Linked DNA regions of Homo sapiens: all the other regions are linked to region 3. The links are contacts of gene promoters, found by promoter capture Hi-C in human tissues and cell types (Jung and others, 2019). All regions are on one chromosome and are shown on one strand. The core of a region is centred on a gene start or on the middle of the fragment in contact, and the rest is flanking DNA. Distances in the headings are between cores, read along the strand shown.

Region 1 (3,945 bases), core at 102-2,601, 350 kb before region 3:
GATGAAAGAGTCATATGGCATGACCATGTAGGTGTTATCTCAGGGATTCCAGGAAAGGTCACATTAGAGAACCAATCTATGCATTTGGTTAAGCCTGGCAGGTTGAACACACCTGCATTCATCTGTGTTCCTTCTGAAATCCCATGAAACCACCTATAAGAGAGAGTTAGAGGCAGAAAAGAAGCAAAGATCAGGGAATAGAAAAGGGCATCAAATAAGAGATAATCAAACATTTTGGAAGATAGGGGCATATATGGTAGCTAATTTCACAGAATGAAAAAACAAAAATCTTGATTACTTGCTTAGGGGAAGCTGACAAGGAGTAAGCCAGTGTACACTTTTGAACTCTGGAAGTTGTCAGGAATTAGAGGCACCATTCCTTTAGAAGGCGAGTTGGAAAATGAAAAATCAAAATGAGGCACAGTCAATGAGAGGCATTCCTTGCACAGAGCTCCTAATCAGATTTTTAGTGTCTCATTCCGAAATGTGAATGGACACCCAGTGGACACTTGATGAATTCTTCCAGAACAAGCAAATAATGGAGGAGGAGCTGGGAAAGAAACCTGGAAGGAACTAACACTTAAAACAACCTTGGAAGAAACGTAAAATTTAAAAAAAATTTTCATCCTCATTAGTAGAGAGAAAATTTCGGATTTCTTGAAACAAGATGCTATAAAAGAGAAACAACTTTTCAAAAGAGCTTTTGGAAATTAAAAATATAATGGCAGAAGTGTTTTAATCACTAGAAGGAATGAAGTTCCTCAGAAAATGTCATAGAAGTTAGATTCAAGAAAAGAAGACATATAAGATTTTCAAGAAAAAAAACCAGGGAGTCTCTAGAGGATCAATCTAGGAAAGCTAACATCCAACTAACAGGAATTCCAAAAGATAAAAGAGAGAGATAAAGCAGAAGGGAGAAACTATTCAAATAATATCACAAGCAAAATGGTCAGAATTGAAATAAAGTTGTCCATTTGAAAGGGCCCTGGAGAGCAAAGCACAACAAATGAATTTAACACCCACATCAAGGCAAACCATCATGAGATTTTAGAATCAAGGGATCAAAGAGAAGAGCCAGAAAATTTCAGACAGGCAAAACAGGTGACATAGAAAGACAGGATCAATAATCAGAATGGCATCAGGTTTCTTATTAGCAATGCTGGAAGTTGCAAGACAGTGAACTAAATTAATTTCCAAACTCTGCATTTATACTTACCAAATATTTATGCAGTTGTGAGGATTAAGGATAAAATTTTTTTTCCAGACATGTACAATTTATATATATATATATATAGTGTCTCTCAATTGAATCCCAGTAAGGTAGGATATATATATATATATATGTATATCTTCTATAAACTCTTAGTCAGGAGGCTACTGGATAATGTGGTAAACCAAAATGAGATAGTAAAGCAAGAAAGAGGTATACATGTAATCCACAAAACAAGACCCAACACAGGAGAGATGTCAAGCTTCAAGGTCAGCCTTGGAAGCTGAAACTAACCAGAACTGATGGAATCAGGGGAATGGATAATTCCAGGAGGGTTTCCCCAAGAAAGTAAAATGGACTTGATAAATTACCCAATGTGCCTCACTGTACTGAAAAGAATTTTAGAATTCTGCAGAGTGCTTGGGAAGAATTCATAATGAGGACACACAAAATCCAAGCAAATATATAAGAGGGCAATAGTTATTTGTGGGGTCGGCGGGGAGGGGCGGGAGGATGTTGCACAGGAAAGGAAATGTAATCATAATATAGTAGATGACTTGGTTATGAACAACATGTAAATAGTCATCATAATGGTAACACTGATTACTGATGAACCTCCAACTGTGATGTATTATGAGAATGGACAGGGAATGAAAAGGAGTGTTATGGAAAAAGTCTTCATCTTCTGTCCTATTATGTGAACAGATTAATGTCTGAAACTTGAAAAATTACAAAGAGCTGTATCAGCACATCATTTCAAAATACAGAAGTAAATACAAAAGTAAGAGCCAAAAAGTTAATCCATTAGGGAAACTGGACATGGGCTGGGAAGATGGCAGAAAGTACTACTTGTGTTTTTAAAGGTCTTATTGACTGATACTTTAAGCTATATATATATATATGTTTTACTTTGGTGAAATTAATAACCGAATTAATAAAATGTTTCAATATAATTTACTGTGGATAAATCAGATTAAAAGAGAAAAATGATACAATTCTCAAAGATTCTTTAGTAGGCATTTTGATAAATATCCTATACACAGGCCTGATTAAAATAAATAACTTTTAGTAAACCAGAGCCAGCAGGAAATGTCCTTAACTTGAAAAAAGGTGTCTATAAGAAAGCCTCAATTTAAACATTATAAGTATTCCCCTTGAAATCAGGAATAAAACTAAAATGTTCATTTTTACTGTTACTATTCAGTATTACACTGGCAGTCCTGGCTAATGCGCTAAGGCAAAAGAGAAAGAAAAAAGAAAGAAAAAGAAAAGTATACAGGTATAAATTCTGAAAAAGAGGAGACAAAGCTGCTACTATCTTTGAAGATGTAATTATTTCTCCAGAAAAACACAAGACAATATTAAGAGGGAGAAGACCACTTAGTAAGACTCCTATGCACAAGATCAGCTAACTAAAATGAATAGATTTCCCTTATGCCAGCAAGAAATAACTAGAAAATGTAAAAGGAAAATGAATTCCTGTTTACAAATACAATTTTAAAATGCCTAGAACTAAAGCGACCCAACAAGGTCCCAAGTTCAAACAATCATGAATAAATGGAGAGATTTACTATGTTTCTCACTGGGGCCATTCAGGATTTTTTTAAAACATAAATTCTTCCTAAATTTATCTGTTCATTTAGTGTCTCTCAATTCAATCCCAGTAAGGTAGGTTACAGAACACTACCTATAAAATCATAGTAACTAAAACATTTCAGTATTGAAACAAGAATGAAAATAGAACCATGGATCAGATCATGGGTCACCAACGCAAATTCATATGTAAAATTTAGCACACTAGTTCCCTTCTATCCACAGGGGATGCTTCCAAGAACCCCAGTGGATGCTTGAAACCGCAGATAGTACCAAACTCTGCATATACTATGTTTTCCCCAATCTGTACATAAATTAGGCACAATAAAAGATGAATAACAATATCTAATAATAAAGTAGATCAACTATAACAATGTAGTGTAATAAAAATTATGTAAATGTGGTCTCTTTTTGTCTCTCAAAACATCATACTGTAGATATTAACAACCTCAGCATATTATTTTTTTCTTTCAGGAAATTTCACATTTTCACCTAAAGGAAGCCCTTGACGGCTTCTCTTTGGCATATCTGAATTGCCAGCATCAACCTTCTTGTGCTTTGGGGCCATTATTGACTAAAATAAGGGTTCCTTGAACACAAGCTCTGTTATACCAGGACAGTCGATCTGATCACCAGGACAGCTACTCAGCGACTCATGGGCTGGTAGTGTCTACACTGTGGATACCCTGGATAAAGGGATGGTTCACATCCTGGGCAGGATGGAGAGGGACAGCATGAGATTTCATCACACTCCTCAGAACGCCAAGTATCTTAAAACTCATGAATTGTTTTCTGGAATTTTGCATTTAATGTTTTTGGACCAAGTTTTACTGCAAGTAACTGAAATCTCAGAAAGTAAAACTGTTGATAAGGGAGGACTACTTTAGTTAATAATGGCATAAAAATATCAAATATCTATGAAGGAATCTAGCAGAAGGGCAAAACCTTCAGAGAGAAAAATACAAATTTTAATAGGAGACATTTTTAAAGTAATAATATACATAAACCATATTCATGAGATGGAAGTCTCGTGAATGTAAAGATGTCCATTCTCTTCAAATTGATTTATAGATCCAGTGCAGTTCCACACAAAATCTCGAGATTTTGACAGGCAAATTTGGGAGTCTAAGACATTCTGGAGG
Region 2 (3,969 bases), core at 1,368-3,867, 270 kb after region 3:
TTATCTGTCCCCTCAGGGATTTAGTTCATTGCTTTTTCAGCCCTAGTTTAGAGAACAGTGGTCTGCAAATATTTTTGTTGTTGTTGTTGTTGTTGTTGTTTTGAAAAGGGCCAGGTAGTGCTGGGCATGGTGTCTCACGCCTGTAATCCCAGCACTTTGGGAGGCTGAGGCAGGCAGATCACGAGGTCAGGAGATGGAGACCATCCTGGCTAACACGGTGAAACCCTATCTCTACTAAAAATACAAAAAACTAGCCGAGCGTGGTGGTGGGCGCCTGTAGTCCCAGCTACTCAGGAGGCTGAGGCAGAGGAATGGCGTGAACCCGGGAAGCGGAGCTTGCAGTGAGCTGAGATCCTGCCACCACACTCCAGCCTGGGTGACAGAGTGAGACTCTGTCTGAATAAATAAATAAATTAATTAAATAAAATAAAGGGCCAGATAGTAAATAATATAAGTGTTGCAGGTTATATATAGTCTATACTCACCACCATTGCCATTGTAGCCCTCAATTAGCCATATACAATATGTGAACAAATGTACATGGCTGCGTTCTAATAAAATTATATTTACAAAAACCGGTGGTGGACTGGATTCGGCTTACAGACCGTACTTTGTCAACCCCTTGTATATAACTTACTGCTTATCAGTTATCTTTTCCTTACACTTTATGTCACTAAGCAAAGTGGTAGAATTACCTTCTTTATCCATTTTACAAAGCTTTTAGTGAAATATGGTGCATTTCTAGAACTCAGTTTCTTACCACTGGTTTGGTTGGTTAGGATTGGATTTCCCTATTGTTTCATTGAATGTATATCAGTAAAATAAAGAGGTACAGTGCGGTGATGAATTGTTACTTTCAGCTGGCCCCAATGGGTCACTAGTTTTCTAGACAGCTGAATTTTGTCTGTCTTAATGTTGCCTTTAGCATCTTTGTAAATCCTAGTTGATCATATCATAGAAGTTCATGTGTTCTATAATGAAAAAGTTTTCATAGCATTTCAAGAATTACACTGGCTTGAGTATTTTATATTGTTTATTGTGTTTCTGAAGTCTGTCACTTCAGGATTGCACATATATTTTTTTTTAATGTAATAGGTGGATATTCAGAGTCAAAGAAGGATGATGCTCGAGCACAGCTTATGAAAGAGGATCCGGAACTGGCTAAGTCTTTTATTAAGACATTATTTGGTGTTCTTTATGAAGTGTATAGTTCCTCAGCAGGACCTGCGGTCAGACATAAGTGCCTTAGAGCAATTCTTAGGATAATTTATTTTGCGGATGCTGAACTTCTGAAGGATGTTCTGAAAAATCATGCTGTTTCAAGGTGTGTTAATGAAAATAGTAGAAACATTTTACAAATACAAATCTCTGCAAGTAATTTCAGAAACCTCTAAAGTAATAATAGAAAAAATATGCACAAAAATTTGTTAGGAGTATCTTGAGCTCTTTTTTGTCTATTTATATTCACATAATAGCTTTTATAAAATATAAAACTTGAGCATTTAAGAAAAATGTTTATGTTAATAGAATGGTTTCACAATGAAAATGCTTTGCTCTCAATTTAAAGTAGTATGGCCAAAAATAATCATCAAATTCAGGCAGAGTTTTATATACAAATGCTTTCTTTTTTTAGTCACATTGCTTCCATGCTGTCAAGCCAAGACCTGAAGATAGTAGTGGGAGCACTTCAGATGGCAGAAATTTTAATGCAGAAGTTACCTGATATTTTTAGTGTTTACTTCAGAAGAGAAGGTAATGTCATATAAATTAATAGTCATTTAGTCTAGATAGTACTTCAACAGAAATAAAGTTTTAATCTGTCGAGCAAAAACTGATAGCTTTTCAATTTAAAAATGACATTTAAAGCTCTGTTAGCTTATAGCTCTGTGTACGTAGAATGTGTCTTTTAGGCTGGGCGTGGTGGCTCACGCCTGTAACCCCAGCACTTTGGGAGGCCAAGGCAGGTGGATCACTTGAGGTCAGGAGTTGGAGACCAGCCTGGCCAACATGGTGAAACCCAGTCTTTAAGAAAAATACAAAAATTAGCGGGGTGTGGTGGTGCACACCTGGGCTGATGTCAAACTCCTTGCCTCAAGCAATCCTACTGCCTCAGCGTGGGATTACAGTTTGTCTTTTAATAAGAGTCTGATAGAATGATAGAAGCCGTGGACTCTTCCCCAGAAAAATGTGAACGTGTGCTCATTCACTCACGTTAAATATATCCACATATTTGCATATAGTTTATACTAGCTGATAATCAGACATGCATATTGGTATACAATTTGATAGTTCTTAGTCACACTCCTTCATACATACTCTCCTATGATTCCGGGACAGATAGGAACCCCTGCCTCACAAGTTAATGTTTAGCTCTCTTTACACACCTTAAAGGATGTGATAGTTCCCACCCTTCAATAGCTGGTTTTTTTTTTGGTGGCAGTGTTAATGTGATCTTGTCTTTTTGTAGCGCTTGAAGTTAACTGATTCTTGGTCTTTTCCATCCCTTCTGGCTGTCACACCACAGGGTGTGCACTGTATTTCTGTAGTTGATTATTGTTTTTATAATGAGTATTTTGAACTCTGAATAGGACTTTGTGACCCTATTAAGTTTTATATAATCTGGTTTTGAAGATTAGAAGACATTCAATATCAGTATTTTTCTTTAACCTTTAGTTTTTATATTTTTTTCTGATTGAAGTCAAGTTGAAAACTCTGGCTCCTAATTTCTTTTACCTATTTGCCAGTTATGTTTTAGTCTTTTTGTGTATTATGTCAGTGTTGGTATTTAGGGATTTTGTAATGGTGGGGAGAAGGTTCTACTCCTGATTAAAACTGACTCCCTTTCATCTCTGTTATTATAAAGGTGTAATGCATCAAGTAAAACACTTAGCAGAATCAGAGTCTTTGTTGACAAGTCCACCAAAGGCATGTACGAATGGATCGGGATCCATGGGATCCACAACTTCAGTCAGCAGTGGGACAGCCACAGCTGCCACTCATGCTGCAGCTGACTTGGGATCACCCAGCTTGCAGCACAGCAGGGATGATTCTTTAGATCTCAGCCCTCAAGGGTAAGTAAGAATTGTGTTGTGATTTTTATTTCTTTGCTGTTAGCGCTGCTTTGGTACCTAAGAATCATATAGGGAGTAAAATGGTAACATATTAGCATATATATATTATATTTTTCCTTTTGTATTTTGTTAATGAGAATGGGAAGAAAACATTTATTGGAAACCTACTGTATTGGGCTGTGTTTAGGAACTGTAAGAGATTAGTTTTATTCCCACTGACATACAAGGAAACTAAAGTTCAGAGACATTTGTGACTTGCACGGTGTTACACACTTATGTTACTTGTAGGCTCTAACATTGTGGGATTTGAATTCTGGTTTCTGATTTCATAATCTTGTGACTATTTTTTGTGCTGCTGCATACATACGACCTCAGAGACATCCAGATATTAATACAGTTAAAAATACTGAAAATTAGAAGTCTTAGAATAAAGGCCAAAAAATACTGATTCCCCATTTATCTTTAATTGGCAACTGGGAGTTAAATACTTTGCTTTTAATAAGGGAAAATGAGAGTTCTTAAATTCTCTACTCCCATTTATTTATCAGCTTTTAATCTTTGTTATACCATGCTACTAAGAATGTTTCCAAAACTTCCATTGGTTTCCATTTTGTTGTGTTAGAAACAAATCACACTCTAAAAGTGTTTTTATTTCCTTGCTATTAGAAGCTTAATATTACTAGATGAGTGGTACCTGATGAACCAAATTCAGTTCTGAAATTCAGTATGTATTCACTTCAGTACTCTTTCTGGCTCCTTTTAAACTGAAAAGTAGATCATGCTAAAATATAGTAATAATAAGTGGGGTCCAAAAATTTAATCTTATAATCTGCAGGGTAGCATTGTCTTGTGCAGGCAGCCAACTCAGGTAGGAGAGGGGATGAGGGGAATTTGGTGC
Region 3 (3,719 bases), core at 599-3,098:
CCCAGCTAATTTTTGTGTTTTTAGTAGAGACGGGGTTTCACCATGTTGGCCAAGCTGGTCTTGAACTCCTAGCCTCAAGTGATCCACCCGCCTTGGCCTTCCAAAGTGCTGGGATTACAGGCGTGAGCCACTGTGCCCAGCCTCAATAATTTTTAAATCAAGAGTTGATATAAGATTAGCTGGGCATGGTGGCACGCTCCTATAACCCCAGCTACTTGGGATGCTGAGGCAGGAGAATTGCTTGAACCTGGGAAGCAGATGTTGTAGTGAGCCAAGATTGCCACTGCACTCTAGCCTGGGTGACAGAGTGAGATTCCATCTCAAAAAAAAAAAAAAAAAAAAAGAGAGACAGAATTGATATAAGAAATAGCAATATAGGCCGGGTGCAGCGGCTCATGCCTGTAATCCCAGCACTTTGGGAGGGTGAGGCAGCCAGATCACTTGAGTCCAAAAGGTCAAGACCAGTCTGGGCAATATAATGAGACTCCGTCTCTATAAAAAGTCAAAAAAATTAGCCAGGCATGGTGGCGTGTGCCTGTAGTCCCAGCTACTCAGGAGGCTGAGGTGGGAGGATCACCTGAGCCCAGGAGGTTGAGGCTGCAATGAGCTGTGATCATGCTACTGCACTCCAGCTTGGGTGACCGAGGAAGGCAATGTGAAATACATGTGAATTTTTTTTCAAAGAAACGAAAAAGAAGGAAGAAAAGAAAAAGGAAAAGAAGAAAGAAGGAAATCTGTGGTAGGCAGAATAATGGTCTCCCAAAGATGTCCACATCCTAATCCCTGGAACATGTGAATTTGTTACCTTACATGGCAAGAGGGGAATTAAGGTTGCAGATGGAATTAAGGTTGCTAATCAGCTGACCTTAAAATAGAGAGATTATCTGGATTATCTCATTGGACTCAATGTAATCCCCAGGGTCCTTAAAAGTGGACAGGGGTGGGGGCAGAAAAGGGGAGACAAGGCAATGTGAGTATGGAAAGAAGACAAAATGACGCAGCAGTGCTGGCTTTGAAGATGGAGGAAGAGCCACCAGCCAAGGAATGTGGGCGGCCTGCAGAAGCTGGTGGCTCTCCCCTACAGCCACGAGAAGGAACACAGCCTTCAAGGTGGCCAACACCATGATCTCAGCCTAGTATGACCCATTTCAAACTTCCGACCTCCAGAACTGTAAAATAGTGAATTTGTGTGGTTTTCCTCTGCTATTACTGTGGCAGTTTATCACAACAGCAGCAGAGAATTACTGCAAAACCTTCAGGCGGGAAAAAACAGCACAGGCTTCATCGACTCACACATTCACTTCAATAATACAGAAAACTGTCCAAGGCAAAGCACTATGTTGTGTGCCCTGCTGGGAATGAGGTAGGGAGGTATTGAGATGAAAGTTGTGCCTGGTGCCCACGAAGGTAGGTAATGGACGTGCAGAAAGAGCAGGGAGAGGTGGGACCCAGGGTGGAAACAAGAATGAGGGACTGGCCGGTCACGGTGGCTCAGCTTGTGATCCCAGCACTTTGGAGGCCAAGGCCAGAGGATTCCTTGAGTCCAAGTGTTCGAGACCAGCCTGGCAATATAGTGAAACCCGTGTCTCTAAAAGAGAGAGAATAAGGGACTTTGAGTCCTCTTTGGCCAAAAATATTTCAGTGAGGGTCTGTTTCATCCCTTCTCTCCCATCTCAGAGAAATGGAGGCTACTGCTAGTCTCACTTGCATCCTGGATTAGATTTCAGGACCTTTCCGCCAGTGATAAATGTGCAGCGCCTTAGCGGAACCTCAGCCAAAGCTATAAACTTCAACCGGCCACAAGAGTGTGCATGTGAGGTGACTGCATTTTTTTTCCCTGCCAAACCAGAATTAGCCGGTATAGGAATGAACGAGCATGAAGATTTGAAATTGCTCCGATTGGAAGGAAGCCCAGGTTAGGTTTGGGCACCTCCAAACGCACCCGTTTTAAAGCCACCTGGACTGAGGCGTCGAGCTTTCAGCTCCACCAAACGCTCACCTGGCCTGGCAGCGAGCGGCGGAAGAGCCCGGGAGCCCCTCACAGAGCGCACCGAGCCGGGCGGAGAGCTGAGCCGCAGGCACCCGCGTCTCCAGGATGATAGGCGACATTGCAACAAATCTCTACACCCAGCAGCTCAGGGGGCTCCAAGCAGAGCAGCAAGTTCGAGGATCCGGGCGTGGAGCCGAGTGAGGCCGCAGCCCAGCGGGCCTCGGGCGGTGAGTATCCGAGGCCGCGCGCGCCGCGGGCCTGGGGAATGGAGCGACGCCGGGGGCATCGGAGCCTAGGTTTCAGATGGCCGCTGCACCCCCAGGGACCCCCGGGAAGGGGCAGCCCCAGCCCAAGGCAGGCTCGGGAAAGGCTGCCCGGGCGGTGGAGGGCGAGACTGTGCCGGGGCAGGTGGTAGTGCCAAGGCCGCCGCGGGGGCTTGGGAGCTGCGGGCGGGCAGGGTAACCGGCGGTTCAGGGCAGACCGCCAGGCGGAGCTTGGGGACGCGCGCCTTGCTGCTCAAGCTGGCCGGGGCCCCGCGAGCGTCATCCTGGGCACCCCCGTCCGGCTGGAGAAGCGCGTTCTGCCCGGAGCCCAGCCTCGCTGCCCGGCTGCTCTCTAGGCCCGTTTGGGACTCGAACTGGACAGTGATGAGGCGCAGAGCGGGGGACCCGGGGCTGCGCCTAGGGACTTCGCGGGGTGCGGATGCCTCTCTGCACAGGCTGTGGTGCTGCAGCCGGCCCAGCTTCCCCGGTGGGCTGCTGGCTTCCGAACGCGCCGAGGGATGCGGGGTGCCCGAAGTGGGGATGTGGTCTCGGGGTGCCAAGGGAGCGGGAGCACCGAGCGCGGGTGGGGGCGGGCGCTCGAAGGGTGGGGCGCGAGGCCGGACCCCGCGGGCACGATCCCGCACCCAGGGCGCGCAGAGGCTGGGCCCCCTTAGCGCTTCCGATTGAGGCTCCTCAAGAGAGGCTGAAATGGGGTGAGAGACCGGGGACGGCCATTTCGGGGCTAAACGCTGCCAAGGCCATGACGATGTTTTAGGAGCTGAACTCTGCTTTCCAATTAAGCCATTTTCTTTCTGAGGAAAAGTTGATTCGGGCTCATTAACAAGGATGACTGAGGGCCATTATTGGGGCTTAGAGAGATTCTCCTTTGCCTTGTCTGGCTTCTTTGTTTGCATGTGCGTGCGTGTGCGGCTGTGTGTGTGTGTGTGAGAGAGAGAGAGAGAGAGAGAGAGAGAGAGAGAGAGAAGAGAGGGGAGAGAGGCAGTGTTGGGGGTGGGAGGAGGTAAAACAGGCTTGGGATCCTGCAGGCCTGGGTTCCGATTTGGTTTCCACAGCCTGCTAGTTTAACCTTTCTAAGCTTCATTGCTCCCATTTGATGGCTCAGATTCTTCCTCTGTAAAATGCGGACATTCATGCCAATTGGACTGGAGGAGAAGCCACCAAGCACAGTCCCTGACCCAGAGCGAAGCATGTATGTGTTGAGTCCTCCTAATTCGGTGTGAATTTTTCGGTTCTGTTTTTCTCCTATGCTGTCTGCACCAGCTCAGCTCAGCTCCGCTCCCCAGCCTTCTCCGCGGCAGCCTCTTCAGCCTGCTGGCCGCAAGTGCGCCCTCTAAAGGCCCCAAATGCCCTGTACACACCAGGTGAAGAGCGCGGAAGCGCCTGCAGAGCAGAATTAAAGGTGAAGCCCGCACTCACCTGCGTGGGATGCAGAGCCGCTACCACCA

What was found. Contacts are between HindIII fragments. The study calls those that stand out against the background at their distance.
Region 1: a fragment that was not itself captured here is called in contact with the fragment with the promoter of SLC16A14 in region 3 in 1 of the 25 tissues and cell types used here (heart right ventricle).
Region 2: a fragment that was not itself captured here is called in contact with the fragment with the promoter of SLC16A14 in region 3 in 1 of the 25 tissues and cell types used here (lymphoblastoid cells).

Annotation. Positions count from the first base shown.
Region 1 is chr2:230,418,903-230,422,847 of GRCh38, reverse strand. The region is part of intron 2 of SP100 (SP100 nuclear antigen); the gene reads right to left. Among named protein-coding and RNA genes, the nearest start is that of SP100, 4.7 kb to the right of the region's middle. The HindIII fragment of the contact is 3,698 bases long and covers 1-3,200 here.
Region 2 is chr2:229,801,354-229,805,322 of GRCh38, reverse strand. TRIP12 (thyroid hormone receptor interactor 12) reads left to right here. Exons shown (of 42, transcript NM_001348323.3): 19 at 1,096-1,324; 20 at 1,634-1,752; 21 at 2,864-3,071. Among named protein-coding and RNA genes, the nearest start is that of DNER, 89 kb to the right of the region's middle. The HindIII fragment of the contact is 4,828 bases long and covers 204-3,969 here.
Region 3 is chr2:230,067,053-230,070,771 of GRCh38, reverse strand. SLC16A14 (solute carrier family 16 member 14) reads left to right here and starts at 1,848. Exons shown (of 5, transcript NM_152527.5): 1 at 1,848-2,217. The region is part of intron 1 of LOC107985995 (a long non-coding RNA gene); the gene reads right to left. RefSeq lists enhancers at 1,785-1,844, 1,855-1,974, 2,370-3,140 and silencers at 2,205-2,474, 2,745-2,994. The HindIII fragment of the contact is 6,778 bases long and covers 1-3,719 here.